4 separate regions of the Homo sapiens genome follow, and regions 2, 3 and 4 are each linked to region 1. The links are contacts of gene promoters, found by promoter capture Hi-C in blood cells and fetal thymus (Javierre and others, 2016). All regions are on one chromosome and are shown on one strand. Each heading gives the region's core, a stretch centred on a gene start or on the middle of the fragment in contact. The rest is flanking DNA. Distances are from core to core; before and after follow the strand shown. Region 1 holds the start of TRL-TAG1-1 (tRNA-Leu (anticodon TAG) 1-1). Region 2 holds the start of KCTD11 (potassium channel tetramerization domain containing 11). Region 3 holds the start of TNFSF12 (TNF superfamily member 12). Region 4 holds the start of CD68 (CD68 molecule).

Region 1 (3,646 bases), core at 350-2,849:
ATCCAGCGATCCGAGTTCAAATCTCGGTGGAACCTTGAAGCTTTTCTTTTAATATCAGCATGTTGAATATTGTTAATTGATTTTCACAGAGGGGATACTCCTATGACCCAAGATAATACGACAAAAAAAAAAAGTAAACTAGGACACTACCAATTATTTGTGCTTTTCCTACCGGATAATTGAGTCCTATAACACAGTGTTAAGAGAACGTACAATAAATTATTTAAATATGTTGGAAGTTGAGCTAACATTTGAAAACATGTTAAAATAGAGATGTTATGAAGAAACGAAATAATAGAGATGTTATGAAGAAACGAAATATTGCTTCAGCAGTTACCATCAGGTCTTAGCTTCTGGGATGGATGCAGGCCTATGATCTCTCTGGAAGACCAAACACGGAAGATGATGGTGAAACCATTACCAGGGGAATTCGTAAAATTACTTTCTGCATGTAAATAGGTGTAACCTCACAGAACTGTTAACAGAACTGTAGCAGGTGCGTAATCCACCAGAAAAACTCCAGCCTGGCAGCGGTGGGATTCGAACCCACGCCTCCGAAGAGACTGGAGCCTAAATCCAGCGCCTTAGACCGCTCGGCCACGCTACCTGCACGAAAACTTACTGTCCCCGTTGTCCTCCTAAGAGACTAGAAGTAAGGAATGGGGCAAATCTTAAGAGTGCCAAATTGATTCGTCTCCTTTTCCACATCTTTTAGACTGGAAATGAAGAACCATCGAGACTGTGGACCGCATAGCAGCAGATGGCAGAACAGATAAACGAGAAGAGACAAAAACACACAGAAATTTACAACAAAACTAGTTTATTTGGGTGGGACTATATCTGGGAGTGGGGAGCGCCTGAGCCGGAAACACCCCCCAAGCGGGCAGCCGGAGCTCTGCACTCGCTCGCTCAGCCATTTTCGGTTGCTCTCCCTCCCTGTTTTTTCGACCCATGTGCGCCCTCTCTCTCACCTGGCTAACATGCTTTGCGCCCGCTACCTCTACCTGGCTTGGCCTCTGAGATCCAAACCGCGCCCTCCTGGCATGTCCCGCCCAAGTCCCTTAGCCCCGCTCCCCAACCCTGCCCCATTCCCACTCTAGTACCCGTAAGCTACAAGACGCCGCCGTTCGTCGGGTGGCTCTGTGGCGCAATGGATAGCGCATTGGACTTCTAGTGACGAATAGAGCAATTCAAAGGTTGTGGGTTCGAATCCCACCAGAGTCGATTTTATTTCAATTTTTCCTTTTTATCCGTTTTTTTCTTAAAGGCCCCCATCCCTTCTCCCCCTACCCTATCTCTCTCTTTCCACCTGGTTTCAATTTCGATCTCAGTTCCCGCTCTGCTCTCTTCTTTACTTACCTGTCTGCCCCGGGGCTTGGGCCATGGAGAGCAGGACTGAGGGTGGGAGACAGAAGGGAAGGGAAAGTGGGCGTGGACGTCGAGATAAAGGCAGGCCCCTGGCTCGGGGACACACGGGGATTTAATAACCACTTTATTCCATGCACTAGGGACTCGGGAAGGGACTGGGACTGGGCTGAGGGGCAGAGAGAGTACAATCCTAGACGCAAGGGAGAAGTTGGGGCAGGGAAAAGGGACAGGAACCAGGGAAATATATATTTATATAGATACTCTAATATAGACCACATCTCACCCGCGCGCTGAGCCCGCGCGCCCCACTGCCCTCCCCAACACCTGCTCGCCCGGACGCCCGGGTCCCTCTGCTGCCCTCGGGCTGGAGTCTCTACCCCACCCCTAGACCCCGCCCCCACCACCCCCCAAGGCTCAGGGCCAAGGTCTCCAGAAAGCGGGCGGCGGGGGCAGCGGGGCCTTGGGCGCCCCGTCTTGTCTGTGAGGCGGCGGTGGCGGCGGCAGCAGTCCGGTGAGGGGCGCCGGCGCGCCAGAATCCCCGGCGCGCGGGGAGCAGAGGGATGGGGACCATGCGCAGCGCGGGCTAGGGTGGCCCTGGTGCACTGGGGGGCGCTGGTGCAGCGCAGGGCCAAGGGCCGGTGCGGCGGGGTCCAGGGATGGGCGCGGCGCTGGAGGCCTCGGATCTACCGGCTTGGGCCGGGGCGGTTTGGGGCGCAGATAGCCGTGCAGCGCGGAGAAGAGCTGGGCGCGGGCGGCCGGGCTGGCGTCGTGCGCGAAGGCCGCCAAGCGAAGCAGGCACTCGCGGAAACCGGACAAGTAGCAGCTGGCGAGCGCCTCGGCGTCCTGGACTGGGGACCGGGGAACCCCTGGAGCCGCGGCGGCTGGTGCGGCCGGCGGGAGCACAGGTGGGCAGGGCAGGGGCCCGGCAGGGGTGAGGGAAGGGGCGGGGCGCAGAGATACCAAGGCCGGACAGGCGCACAGAGACAGGAAGCCAGATGGACGGAAAGAGGGAGAAAATGAGGGAGACACAGAGACAGACACGCGCGGGTGTTATTAACCTCGCCTCGGAGCAGAACCGGCCACTCCCCAAGCCCACCATCCACCGCAGGGCCCGCCCACTCTGCCCCGGCCGGAGCCTCCTGGCGTCCCCCCTCCCTCCCTCCGCTGCCCCACCCCCGCGCTGTACCCGGGGGCTCCACCCGGCTTCGCTCCCTCAAGTAGCCCACGGCGAACTCCAATATCTCCGCTTTCTCCAGCTTCGGGTTCCGGAGGTTCTACAGACGGGAGGGGAGGGCGCAGAGACAGAAAGGGGTGGGGAGAAAGGGGGAAAGTGGCAGGGGGAAGAAGGGAGGGACGGATGCGGGAGCTGGTGGTGCCCCCGATCGCATTTGCGCACTGCCCACAGAACGCGCGACCAAATGCGGAGTGGAGATGACCAAGGAAAGTCCTGGCCCACCCTGAGACGAAACTGTCCAATCCTAGGGGTTGGAACCAATGCCCAACGCGTGAGGAGGAGATTTGAAACCGCAACCCAGGGAATGAAATTAACCACCCGACATAACAGAGGCTGGCTCATCAGAGGCTGGCTGTGGGGGAGGGGGAACCGGACACTTAGAGACCCAAAGGGTGAAACTGACCGACCCCGGGAGCGAAATTTACAGAACCAGGCGTGAAACTTACAGACCCGAGGGGTGGCGAAGAAGATCGCGTTCTGAGAGCGAGTGGGGGTCTGGGATGGAATTCCAAAGGCGGGACTCGGGTGAGGATGCCTTGGGGCCAGGGTTGCCAACCAAGCTTGTGTCCCCACCCCAGTGGGAAGCCCTGGGACGCGGAAACGGGAAGCTTGGGGACCTAGGGCTAGCGGAGGGACTGACCTGGTCCCGGGTCCGCTCCAGCAGCAGCAGCCTCAGCTCTTCCAGGCTGCGGTTGATGCGGTCCCGGCGCCGCTTCTCCACAAGCGGCTTGAGCATCTGCGACCAGCGAGAAAAGGAGAGCGGGCCGACCAGACCGAGACTCAGTGCGGCCGCCCCGGCGTCGGATCCCGCCGCTGGGAGAGCCCGGCTTCCACCCCGGCCACAAGACCCCAGATTGCCTAGGGCCGGCCCCATTCGATCCCTCTCCGCTCCCCCTCCCAATGCCCCTAGATCAGTTTCTGTAGCTCGCCTCCCCGGATCTTCGCATTCTCCTCTCTCAGTCTCGTCCTCCCTCCTCCCCTCTCTGTGTCTCTCCTCCTCTTTTCTCTCTACGTCTCCGTCTGGTGCAGTTTCTCTTTGTCTCA
Region 2 (3,646 bases), core at 438-2,937, 770 kb before region 1:
TGAGAGGCGTAATTCGCCCATCAACATTGCTGTCAGGCATCTTTTTAGCACTAGACGTGACCCCGGGGGTGGGGGCAGATGAACGGAACGCAACCCAGCTCAAAGGATGGGAAGTTGTGGGGGAGGTGAGGATAGTCTTTTTTTTTTTTTTTGAGACGGAGTCTCACTCTGTCGCCCAGGCTAGAGTGCAGGGGCGCGATCTCGGCTCACTGCAACCCCCGCCTCCCGGGTTCAAGCGATTCTCCTGTCTCAGCCTCCCCTGAGTAGCTGGGACTACAGGCGTGCGCCACCACCCCCGGCTAATTTTTTGTATTTTTAGTAGAGACGGGGTTTCACCATGTTGGCCAGGACGGTCTCGATCTCCTGACCTCGTGATCCGCCTGCCTCGGCCTCCCAAAGTGTTGGGATTACAGGCGTGAGCCACCGCGCCCGGCCAAAGATAGTGTCGTTCATTTCTTAATTCCCTCCTCTTCAGGCTACGACTGGCAAAGATGAGGGAGGCTGAAGCGGCCCAGGGGCAGGCAGGTAAAGAATACACCCACCCCACCCCCCAGGCCCAACACCTGAACTCTGGGCTTCTGGTCCACGGTGACCTCTCTCCCTAGTGCCCAGCTGCATTCATTCCGTTATTTAACAAATGCGTATTGGGCGCATGCGACGTGCCAGGCCCTGGCAAGGCATAGGTGCTGGCGCAGTGCCCGCGGCGCGCACGTTCCCACCCAGGCTCGGAGCGCGAGGTCCCCAGGTGGGCCCCAACCGCCGGATCCTGCCCTTCTGCACTGGGGCCCAGCCGCCTCCCGGCCTTTCCTCCCTCCCCCAGGAGATGAGACGTATCTTGACATCTTCCGCGACTTCTCCCTCATGGCGTCAGACGACCCGGAGAAGCTGAGCCGTCGCAGTCATGACCTCCACACGCTGTGACCCGAGGCCCACGGGGCCCGCGCCTGCCTCCCTTCCCCGCCACCGGGCCCTCTGCCATTAAAGCCTCCGTGCTTCGCTCTTCCCTTCTGGTTCACTTCTTGGGCGCCACCTTCGGGCCCGTAGGGTGTTGGGCGCTGCGGCTCCCGAGGTGCGGGGAGCAGCTGGGGGTTTGCGAGCTCCAGTCCAGCAAGGTGCGACTCCGGGGAGCGAGGCGGCAGCTTCGGCCGCGGCCTGAGCGCAGGGCGCTGCGGGGCGGGGGCTCTCGGGCTGGGGCGACGTGGCCAGCCCAGTCCTGCCGAGGGGTGGGGCTGGCCCTGGGGCTCGCTGGCCCCGCGCCGCCGCGGAGAGAGCGCGCCCGGGCCACCCCGGCTGGAAGGCATCCCCGGAATGCGGCGGCTCAGCACCCGCCCCCTCGGGAATTCCCCGGGGGAGCCGCTGGGAGGGACTCGGCTCCCGGGCTGGGCCGGCCGGGCCTCGGGCTCTGAGCGGTGGGATTAGAGGCTCCAGCCCCGCCGACTTGCAGACGTGAGATCGGGCACACCTGAGCGGCGGCGGGGCGGTCGTGGCCACATCCGGGGCGACGTGCCTGAGTCACCCCGTCCCGCCAGCGTCTGCCAGTCCAGCCAGTCCGCCCAGTCTCTCGCGTCCGAGACTCGCCTCCAGCCTCCCACCTCCGCCCGGGCCGCGCGAGCCTCGCGGGGGCGGGGGCGGGGCGCCAAGGGGCGGGGCTGTCTCTTAAAGGGCCCCGGGCCGCTGCCCTTAGGCCACTTCCTGGGGGCGGAGAGGACCTCAGCGGCTGCGGCGACACCCAGGGAAGGCGGCGCGGCCGGGTCCCGAAACTCCTGGCTGTTTCCATCAGAGCCCTCGGACACTCCCAGCCCGGGCTGAGCACGCATCGTCGCTCCCCGGCGGATACAAGGGGGCTCCGCCATCCGCTCCCGTCAGTTCGGCCTCCATCTCCTGGGACCCGCGCCGGCAGCCAGGCCAGGCCTCTGAGTGGCCCCAGAGCCCTGGCTGGACTCGTCCACGGCGGCAGCGATCTGCCCGGGGTCTCGGAGGCCATCCCTTCAGAGTCGGCCCTGTGCTCGCCACCGTCACCTGCTGGTTGGATTCCGGAAACCCACTGTCTGAAGACCACAGAGGGGTGTCGCTGACCACCCCAAATCGGATACGTCCAGACCTCAAGCTCCCTTCCCCTCTCTGGCTGCCCTCTGCTCTTTTCATCTCTTCTCTCAACCTTTTGGGGATTTCTGTGTCCTGACACCACCTCCCCATCCACCACCAAAGTAGCCGGGGTGAGCCCCAAACCTTACTGGGTGTGCTCCACCTGTGCCTCCAACCCAGCGAATCTGACAGCTTCGACCCAATTCTGCACACACCCAGGAAGTTCTGCCTTTTCTTTTCTTTCGGTGTCTCCTGTACTTCCCAAAATTTCTCCTCCTCCTGTGCCCTCTTCGCCCCCCTCCTTTGGGGGCCCCGTGACCCTGAATGTGGGGGGCACACTATATTCCACCACTTTGGAGACCCTGACCCGCTTCCCAGACTCTATGCTGGGGGCCATGTTTAGGGCCGGCACCCCCATGCCCCCCAACCTCAATTCCCAAGGAGGCGGCCACTACTTCATCGACCGGGATGGCAAGGCCTTCCGGCACATCCTCAATTTCCTGAGGCTGGGCCGCCTGGACCTGCCCCGTGGGTACGGAGAGACAGCGCTGCTCAGGGCAGAGGCTGACTTCTACCAGATCCGGCCCCTCCTGGACGCGCTGCGGGAACTGGAGGCCTCTCAGGGGACCCCTGCACCCACAGCTGCCCTGCTCCACGCAGATGTAGATGTCAGCCCCCGCCTGGTGCACTTCTCTGCTCGCCGGGGACCCCATCACTATGAGCTGAGCTCCGTCCAGGTGGACACCTTCCGAGCCAACCTTTTCTGCACCGACTCTGAGTGTCTAGGTGCTTTGCGGGCCCGATTTGGTGTGGCCAGTGGGGATAGGGCAGAGGGGAGCCCACATTTTCATCTGGAGTGGGCCCCCCGCCCCGTGGAACTCCCCGAGGTGGAGTATGGGAGACTGGGGCTGCAGCCGCTGTGGACTGGGGGGCCAGGAGAGCGGCGGGAGGTGGTGGGCACCCCAAGCTTCCTGGAGGAGGTGCTGCGGGTGGCTCTCGAGCACGGCTTCCGACTAGACTCTGTCTTCCCCGACCCCGAAGACCTGCTCAACTCCAGGTCTCTGCGCTTTGTCCGGCACTGAGGATGCTGTTCTCAGTTTGACTGTGGGGAGGAGAGAGAATGGGGTACTAGCACCCCTGAAGCCTCTTTCCAGCTCTGCTTCAGGAGCTATGAGAGTCGGGACTCTCCTGCACCTGACTGGAGCTCAGATGTGGGCAGGAATTCCCAAACCTGAGCCCACCAAGGACTCACAAGTGGTCCAGAAGGTCTCAACCTGTGCTGACCCTGGGAGGGGTAGGGAAGGTTCTCTCAGCTTGTTCTTGCCTAAGGCTGAGCACCTCCAGTCTCTCCTTGATTTGGAGCTCAGTGTTTAAGGGCTTGGAAAAGGGGGGAACATCTCTTTACCCAGACTAGACCTAGCAAAACCCTGGAAGGATATTGAGGTCTGGGGAAAAGGGAGGACTTTGCATTTTCCCAATGCGGTCTCTTGGACCATGGCTTCTACTCCTGAAGCTGGGTGGCCTGGCCTGGCCTGACCAATGAGAGGCCAGAACACTCTGG
Region 3 (3,646 bases), core at 217-2,716, 570 kb before region 1:
CTCGTGTTGGAATGCAGTGGTGTGATCACAGCTCACTGCAGCCTCAACCTCCCAGGCTCAGGTGATCCTCCCATCTCAACCTCCTGAGTAGCTGGGACTACAGGCATGCACCACCATGCCCAGCTCTATGGATGCTTTTTCTTGACTCTCTTTAAGTATATTAGGTAGTACTCTTTGTATCCTGAATTATCTCTGTTTCCTCCAATGTCAAATTTTGTTTGTTAATTTTGGTCTTTCTTTCTTTTTTTTTTTTTTTGAGATAGGGTCTTGCTGTGTTGCCCAGGCTGGAGTGTGGTGGCGTGATCTCAGCTCTCTGCAACCTCTGTCTCCTGGGTTCAAGCAATTCTCTGCCTCAGCTTCCCGAGTAGCTGGGAACTACAGGCGCCTGCCACCACGTCCGGCTAATTTTTTTGTATTTTTATTAGAGACAGGGTTTCACCATCTTGGCCAGGCAGGTCTCGATCTCCTGACCTCGTGATCCACCCGCCTCAGCCTCCCAAAGTGCTGCGATTACAGGCGTGAACCATCGCGCCCAGCCAATTTTGGTCCTTCCTTCCTTCCTTCCTTCCTTCCTTCCTTCCTTCCTTCCTTCCCTCCTTCCCTCCCTCCCTCCCTCCCTCCTTTCTTTCTTTCTTCCTTTCTTTCTTTCTTTTTGAGACAAGGTCTGTTGCCCAGGCTGGAGTGTAGTGGTGCAATCACAGCTCACTGCAGCCTCAAACTCCTGGGCTCAAACAATCCTCCTACCTCGGCCTCCTGAGTAGCTGGGACTACAGGCGTGGGCTAATTTTTTAAAACTTTTCTGTAGAGATGGGGTCTTGCTCTTGCCCAGGCTGATCTTGAACTCCTGGCCCCCAGCCTTGGCCTTCTGGGATTACAGGCGTAAGCCACCTGCCGGACCAATTTTGGTGTTTCTTTTGCATGCTGCTGGTCCTCCTCAGATGCTTGGCAATCATTGGTAATGATGGGCTTCAGAACGTGCTACCGGCACAGTGAGTGTTTTAAGCTGAAGGAATTTGAGAAAACCGCAGAAGCCGAAGGATCTTTCTTACCTTCTCCTGCCCTTCTTCCCTGAACCAGGTCATACAACCTGGAACTCCCTGCCCTTTTCCTGAAGAAGCAAATAACAGCCTCCTGCGAGAGGCGCCCTCCCTGCACCTGGGGGAAAGGAGGGTCCTTATCTCTGAAGACACAGGGACACAGAAGAATCTGAACCAACAGGCCTTCCTGAGTTCCCCACCTCCCCGCAGGAGGTGCCCGCACACGCATAGCCCCGTCGCTCCCGCGGCCGCACGCAACGGACCTCGCCCTGGTGGTGCACGCCCGGGCTGGGCGCTCAGAGGTCGGGTGGGCGCCCACTCCGTTCGCTGCGCGCACAGCGCCCGGCGAGAGGCTCGGAGTTTGATCACACACAGCGTCCGGCTTCCTGTCCCCAGCGCCCCCTCCCGCCCCGTTTCCCTTGCCCCTCCCTCTCCCCGGCCCGATCCGCCCGCCGGCTCCCCCTCCCCCGATCCCTCGGGTCCCGGGATGGGGGGGCGGTGAGGCAGGCACAGCCCCCCGCCCCCATGGCCGCCCGTCGGAGCCAGAGGCGGAGGGGGCGCCGGGGGGAGCCGGGCACCGCCCTGCTGGTCCCGCTCGCGCTGGGCCTGGGCCTGGCGCTGGCCTGCCTCGGCCTCCTGCTGGCCGTGGTCAGTTTGGGGAGCCGGGCATCGCTGTCCGCCCAGGTGAGGCCCCGCTGCGCACCCCTTCTTGGGCACATCAGGAGCTGAGACTGCAGAGGGGCCGCTGGGGGCCGCGTGGGCTGAAGGCAAGGGGAAGGGAGGATGGGTGGAGGGTGAGATGTCAGGTGGAGCGGCACAGGGTGACGCTCCCTCCTTCCCAGCAGGAGCCTGCCCAGGAGGAGCTGGTGGCAGAGGAGGACCAGGACCCGTCGGTGAGTGGGCGTGGGCGCGGTCTGCAGGCTGCTGGGGCATGGGAAGTGTGCACAGCCGAGGCTGCAGGTGTGTGCAGCTGTGCCAGCCGTACTCGAGGTGTGTGCAGGGTGTGTGTGAACACAGTGCGTGCATGGGTGCGTGTCTGCAGGGGTGTGTGTGCGTGGTGACAACTCTGTGTGAGGGGTTTGTGCTGGGGTTGTGCCACCTGAGTCTGAGGTGTTTATTGGCTGGGGGTGACGTGGTTGTATAAGATATGTGAGTCTGCGTGGAAGAGGGGTGCGGTTGTGTACAGGGTGTGTATCCTCTGTGCGTGGTGACTGGGTGCGGGCATGTGTGCAATGTGCCAATTGAATGCAGGGTCTGCGTTGGTTGTGTGTGTGGGTGGGAAAGTGTAGCTGGTCTAGAGGAAAGGGTGAGGACTGGGGCCTGACTCCCAGCTTCACCTTTGCCCGGGGCCCCAGCTGTAGTTGGCTGAGGGGCTTAATCTGTCCCTGACTTCTGTGTCTATTGCTGGCTGGTGGCTCTCCTGACAGGCCCCGTATGTCTCACTTTATATCTCTGGGAGTCTGTGGTTGAACCCTGCCCTAATTCCCCTAGGAACTGAATCCCCAGACAGAAGAAAGCCAGGATCCTGCGCCTTTCCTGAACCGACTAGTTCGGCCTCGCAGAAGTGGTGAGCATCCCTCTATCCCAACCTCAGGAAGCGGGCAGAGCAAAAACCATTATCCACAGGGAGAAACTGAGGCACGGAGGGTGAAAGGAGTTCAGAGTCATGCAGCTAACCAGCCAAGACTCAAACCTAGGGATTCTCGCCCTCCTCTGAAGCTCCTTCTGTCATATGGATGTGCTCCTTCAGACCCTACCCCAAACAGGAAGGCAGGGTGGCCATGAGTTAGAAGAACTACTGGGATCCTGATGGAGACTAGGCCTGGCAGTCAGAGGCCTGGGCCCCGGTAGGCAAAGAGACTTAGGAATGGGATGATGGGGTGGCCGGATGACCACGTGTCCAAGTCGGCATGCAGTTGTCCTGGCCCCCACCTGTTATCTCGGTGTGATTAATAGCAGCTTCCCGTTTTGCTCTCAGCAGTATCCCAGTGTGGATGACAAATTATAGTCACTCTACTTACTGAGGAAGATGAGGCCTGAGATTCTAAGGCCAGGAGTCTGGACAAGAATAAGGATGCCAGGGTTCCTGAGAGGGGAATGGGGCTGGGAGAGTTGCTCTGGGACCCCCACTAGGGCCCGCTTTGCTCATCTGTCTTTCCTTGATCCTCAGCACCTAAAGGCCGGAAAACACGGGCTCGAAGAGCGATCGCAGCCCATTATGAAGGTGGGTGATGGGTGAGCCATACCCAGGAGGAGAGGGGCAGGTGGCAGAGGGTCAGGGCAGGTCTCACCAGCCTTTTCCTGTACTTTACAGTTCATCCACGACCTGGACAGGACGGAGCGCAGGCAGGTGAGACCCCATCCCCCGACACAGCACTGGCCTCCTGGGAAAAGGGCCCTTGAAAACCTTTGACCTCCCACTCCCTTCCCGGCCATCAGTCTCAGAACCACAGAAGCCAGTTCATGAAGGTCTTGGTTCTCTCTGTGACCCAGGCGTGGGACCCCATGAAAGACCCCTACTCTTCCCCAGAACTCTGCCCAGTTCCCCCAGCAAATCACTGTCCCAGCTCTCTCCTTCAGCCCTCATTCTTCTCCAAGAAGCACTTTTC
Region 4 (3,646 bases), core at 15-2,514, 540 kb before region 1:
GTGTGGCTATTAACATGGTGACAGAAGAAGACAAGAGGACTCTTCGAGACATTGAGACCTTCTACAACACCTCCATTGAGGAAATGCCCCTCAATGTTGCTGACCTCATCTGAGGGGCTGTCCTGCCACCCAGCCCCAGCCAGGGCTCAATCTCTGGGGGCTGAGGAGCAGCAGGAGGGGGGAGGGAAGGGAGCCAAGGGATGGACATCTTGTCATTTTTTTTCTTTGAATAAATGTCACTTTTTGAGGCAAAAGAAGGAACCGTGAACATTTTAGACACCCTTTTCTTTGGGGTAGGCTCTTGCCCCAGGCGCCGGCTCTTCTCCCAAAAAAAAAAAAAAAACACTAATCCATTTCCCTAACCTAGTAACCTCCAGATCCCAGAGGCTCTCCTCACCTCAGCTGAGCTCCTTTGAAAGTGATTCAAGGGACTATGTCACTCAGCCTCATTTGCTGGACCAAATCTGGAGGGAGAACCCCTAAAACCCCTAAGTGAGGTTGCCCAGGGGGTTGTCCCCAGGTGGGGGGAAGCAGGGGAGAGAAAATGGTAGCCATTTTTACATTGTTTTGTATAGTATTTATTGATTCAGGAAACAAACACAAAATTCTGAATAAAATGACTTGGAAACTGCCTGTTTGGGCTTCTCATTTCTTACCTCCCCTTCCCTCTCCCACCTGCTACTGGGTGCATCTCTGCTCCCCCCTTCCCCAGCAGATGGTTACCTTTGGGCTGTTGCTTTCTTGTCACCATCTGAGTTCTCAGACGCTGGAAAGCCATGTTCTCGGCTCTGTGAATGACAATGCTGACTGGAGTGCTGCCCCTCTGTAAAGGGCTGGGTGTGGATGGTCACAAGCCCCTCACATGCCTCAGCCAAGAGGAAGTAGTACAGGGGTCAGCCCAGAGGTCCAGGGGAAAGGAGTGGAAACCGATTTCCCCACCAAGGGAGGGGCCTGTACCTCAGCTGTTCCCATAGCTACTTGCCACAACTGCCAAGCAAGTTTCGCTGAGTTTGACACATGGATCCCTGTGGATCAACTGCCCTAGGACTCCGTTTGCACCCATGTGACACTGTTGACTTTGCCCTGATGAAGCAGGGCCAACAGTCCCCTAACTTAATTACAAAAACTAATGACTAAGAGAGAGGTGGCTAGAGCTGAGGCCCCTGAGTCAGGCTGTGGGTGGGATCATCTCCAGTACAGGAAGTGAGACTTTCATTTCCTCCTTTCCAAGAGAGGGCTGAGGGAGCAGGGTTGAGCAACTGGTGCAGACAGCCTAGCTGGACTTTGGGTGAGGCGGTTCAGCCATGAGGCTGGCTGTGCTTTTCTCGGGGGCCCTGCTGGGGCTACTGGCAGGTAAGGAGGAAGGAGGCTGAGGGGAGGGGGCCCCTGGGAGGGAGCCTGCCCTGGGTTGCTAACCATCTCCTCTCTGCCAAAAGCCCAGGGGACAGGGAATGACTGTCCTCACAAAAAATCAGCTACTTTGCTGCCATCCTTCACGGTGACACCCACGGTTACAGAGAGCACTGGAACAACCAGCCACAGGACTACCAAGAGCCACAAAACCACCACTCACAGGACAACCACCACAGGCACCACCAGCCACGGACCCACGACTGCCACTCACAACCCCACCACCACCAGCCATGGAAACGTCACAGTTCATCCAACAAGCAATAGCACTGCCACCAGCCAGGGACCCTCAACTGCCACTCACAGTCCTGCCACCACTAGTCATGGAAATGCCACGGTTCATCCAACAAGCAACAGCACTGCCACCAGCCCAGGATTCACCAGTTCTGCCCACCCAGAACCACCTCCACCCTCTCCGAGTCCTAGCCCAACCTCCAAGGAGACCATTGGAGACTACACGTGGACCAATGGTTCCCAGCCCTGTGTCCACCTCCAAGCCCAGATTCAGATTCGAGTCATGTACACAACCCAGGGTGGAGGAGAGGTAAAGCTAAAACTGGGGGATGAGAGGGGAGGGAGGCAGGACTGGATATAGGCTCAGAGGGAAGAAGGAAGAGGGGACAGGGAACCTTGGCCGGCATCGCATGCAGTCTTGTGACCTTCCAGTCTTTAACTTCCGCAGGCCTGGGGCATCTCTGTACTGAACCCCAACAAAACCAAGGTCCAGGGAAGCTGTGAGGGTGCCCATCCCCACCTGCTTCTCTCATTCCCCTATGGACACCTCAGCTTTGGATTCATGCAGGTATAGCCATGACCTCAGTCTCACCCCTCACTCAGCCTCCCGGCGCCCCTCCCCTCCCAATCCCACACGCTACTCCTTCCTCTGTGGAGAGGGATACCACCTGCGCCTTCCTCTTCGCCCCACAGGACCTCCAGCAGAAGGTTGTCTACCTGAGCTACATGGCGGTGGAGTACAATGTGTCCTTCCCCCACGCAGCACGTAAGTAACCTCCTTCCCTTTCTCATTGCTACCACTAGACGCCAGGGTTCCTGAAAGGACTAAGCTGGGGCCAGGGAGGTGGATAGGATCTGACCCTTCCTCACTCCTCCAGAGTGGACATTCTCGGCTCAGAATGCATCCCTTCGAGATCTCCAAGCACCCCTGGGGCAGAGCTTCAGTTGCAGCAACTCGAGCATCATTCTTTCACCAGCTGTCCACCTCGACCTGCTCTCCCTGAGGCTCCAGGCTGCTCAGCTGCCCCACACAGGGGTCTTTGGGCAAAGTAAGACCTACCTACTCCTTCCCTCCTAGAATCCTCCCACTGCACTGAAAACCCCTTCCCCAGGCCCATAAGCCACTCATCTCTCTTCTTAACCCCCCAAATCTCGCTCTCCCAGCTTGTCATGGCTACAGGGCAGCTTTCTTTCCATCCTCTACAAGACTCTGCCAGTTTCCCCCTTTTATCACTGCTGAGTCACTGCGGTGAGCTCCTCACCAATCTCCTACTCCCCAGCATCCCCCCATTCCCTCCTCCCACCTTTATCCCAACCAGCACGTCACTGCAAATACCTACCTGCCCTATCCTTCCGCCAGGTTTCTCCTGCCCCAGTGACCGGTCCATCTTGCTGCCTCTCATCATCGGCCTGATCCTTCTTGGCCTCCTCGCCCTGGTGCTTATTGCTTTCTGCATCATCCGGAGACGCCCATCCGCCTACCAGGCCCTCTGAGCATTTGCTTCAAACCCCAGGGCACTGAGGGGGTTGGGGTGTGGTGGGGGGGTACCCTTATTTCCTCGACACGCAACTGGCTCAAAGACAATGTTATTTTCCTTCCCTTTCTTGAAGAACAAAAAGAAAGCCGGGCATGACGGCTCATGCCTGTAATCCCAGCACTTTGGGAGGCTGAGGCAGGTGGATCACTGGAGGTCAGGAGTTTGAGACCAGCCTGGCCAACATGGTGAAACCCTGTCTCTACTAAAAATACAATTAGCCAGGTGTGGCGGCGTAATCCCAGCTGGCCTGTAATCCCAGCTACTTGGGAGGCTGAGGCAGAACTGCTTGAACCCAGGAGGTGGAGGTTGCAGTGAGCCGTCATCGCGCCACTAAGCCAAGATCGCGCCACTGCACTCCAGCCTGGGCGACAGAGCCAGACTGTCTCAAATAAATAAATATGAGATAATGCAGTCGGGAGAAGGGAGGGAGAGAATTTTATTAAATGTGACGAACTGCCCCCCCC

What was found. The method cuts DNA at HindIII sites, captures the fragments that hold promoters and counts their contacts. A CHiCAGO score of 5 or more calls a contact.
Region 2: a contact is called between the fragment with the promoter of KCTD11 here and a fragment that was not itself captured in region 1, in 3 of 17 cell types (activated CD4 T cells, erythroblasts and non-activated CD4 T cells). The highest score is 5.8, in activated CD4 T cells.
Region 3: a contact is called between the fragment with the promoter of TNFSF12 here and a fragment that was not itself captured in region 1, in 1 of 17 cell types (naive CD4 T cells). The highest score is 5.1, in naive CD4 T cells.
Region 4: a contact is called between the fragment with the promoter of CD68 here and a fragment that was not itself captured in region 1, in 7 of 17 cell types (total CD8 T cells, fetal thymus, total CD4 T cells and 4 more). The highest score is 9.5, in total CD8 T cells.

Annotation. Positions count from the first base shown.
Region 1 is chr17:8,119,789-8,123,434 of GRCh38, forward strand. HES7 (hes family bHLH transcription factor 7) reads right to left here. Exons shown (of 4, transcript NM_001165967.2): 2 at 3,243-3,338; 3 at 2,555-2,642; 4 at 804-2,249. The coding sequence ends at 1,783. It overlaps TRL-TAG1-1 (tRNA-Leu (anticodon TAG) 1-1), which reads right to left and starts at 607; the gene lies at 526-607. TRR-TCT2-1 (tRNA-Arg (anticodon TCT) 2-1) reads left to right here and starts at 1,137; the gene lies at 1,137-1,224. It overlaps TRQ-CTG1-5 (tRNA-Gln (anticodon CTG) 1-5), which reads left to right; the gene lies at 1-35. RefSeq lists silencers at 1-82, 453-662, 1,603-2,062, 2,283-2,392. The HindIII fragment of the contact is 3,122 bases long and covers 39-3,160 here.
Region 2 is chr17:7,350,475-7,354,120 of GRCh38, forward strand. It overlaps KCTD11 (potassium channel tetramerization domain containing 11), which reads left to right and starts at 1,688. Exons shown (of 1, transcript NM_001363642.1): 1 at 1,688-3,646. The coding sequence starts at 2,352. The coding sequence ends at 3,167. It overlaps ACAP1 (ArfGAP with coiled-coil, ankyrin repeat and PH domains 1), which reads left to right. Exons shown (of 22, transcript NM_014716.4): 21 at 476-525; 22 at 821-1,003. The coding sequence ends at 921. RefSeq lists silencers at 757-816, 887-946, 997-1,766. The HindIII fragment of the contact is 3,784 bases long and covers 1-3,050 here.
Region 3 is chr17:7,547,592-7,551,237 of GRCh38, forward strand. It overlaps TNFSF12 (TNF superfamily member 12), which reads left to right and starts at 1,467. Exons shown (of 7, transcript NM_003809.3): 1 at 1,467-1,721; 2 at 1,883-1,930; 3 at 2,529-2,604; 4 at 3,208-3,261; 5 at 3,352-3,387. The coding sequence starts at 1,563. It overlaps TNFSF12-TNFSF13 (TNFSF12-TNFSF13 readthrough), which reads left to right and starts at 1,467. Exons shown (of 11, transcript NM_172089.4): 1 at 1,467-1,721; 2 at 1,883-1,930; 3 at 2,529-2,604; 4 at 3,208-3,261; 5 at 3,352-3,387. The coding sequence starts at 1,563. RefSeq lists silencers at 1,362-1,551, 1,582-1,661. The HindIII fragment of the contact is 9,939 bases long and covers 1-3,646 here.
Region 4 is chr17:7,578,374-7,582,019 of GRCh38, forward strand. CD68 (CD68 molecule) reads left to right here and starts at 1,265. Exons shown (of 6, transcript NM_001251.3): 1 at 1,265-1,353; 2 at 1,437-1,954; 3 at 2,093-2,212; 4 at 2,338-2,410; 5 at 2,523-2,693; 6 at 3,005-3,646. The coding sequence starts at 1,305. The coding sequence ends at 3,138. It overlaps EIF4A1 (eukaryotic translation initiation factor 4A1), which reads left to right. Exons shown (of 11, transcript NM_001416.4): 11 at 1-633. The coding sequence ends at 113. It overlaps SENP3-EIF4A1 (SENP3-EIF4A1 readthrough (NMD candidate)), which reads left to right. Exons shown (of 22, transcript NR_037926.1): 22 at 1-633. MPDU1-AS1 (MPDU1 antisense RNA 1) reads right to left here. Exons shown (of 2, transcript NR_136402.2): 2 at 3,601-3,646. RefSeq lists a silencer at 266-454 and enhancers at 1,930-1,989, 2,090-2,159. The HindIII fragment of the contact is 9,128 bases long and covers 1-3,646 here.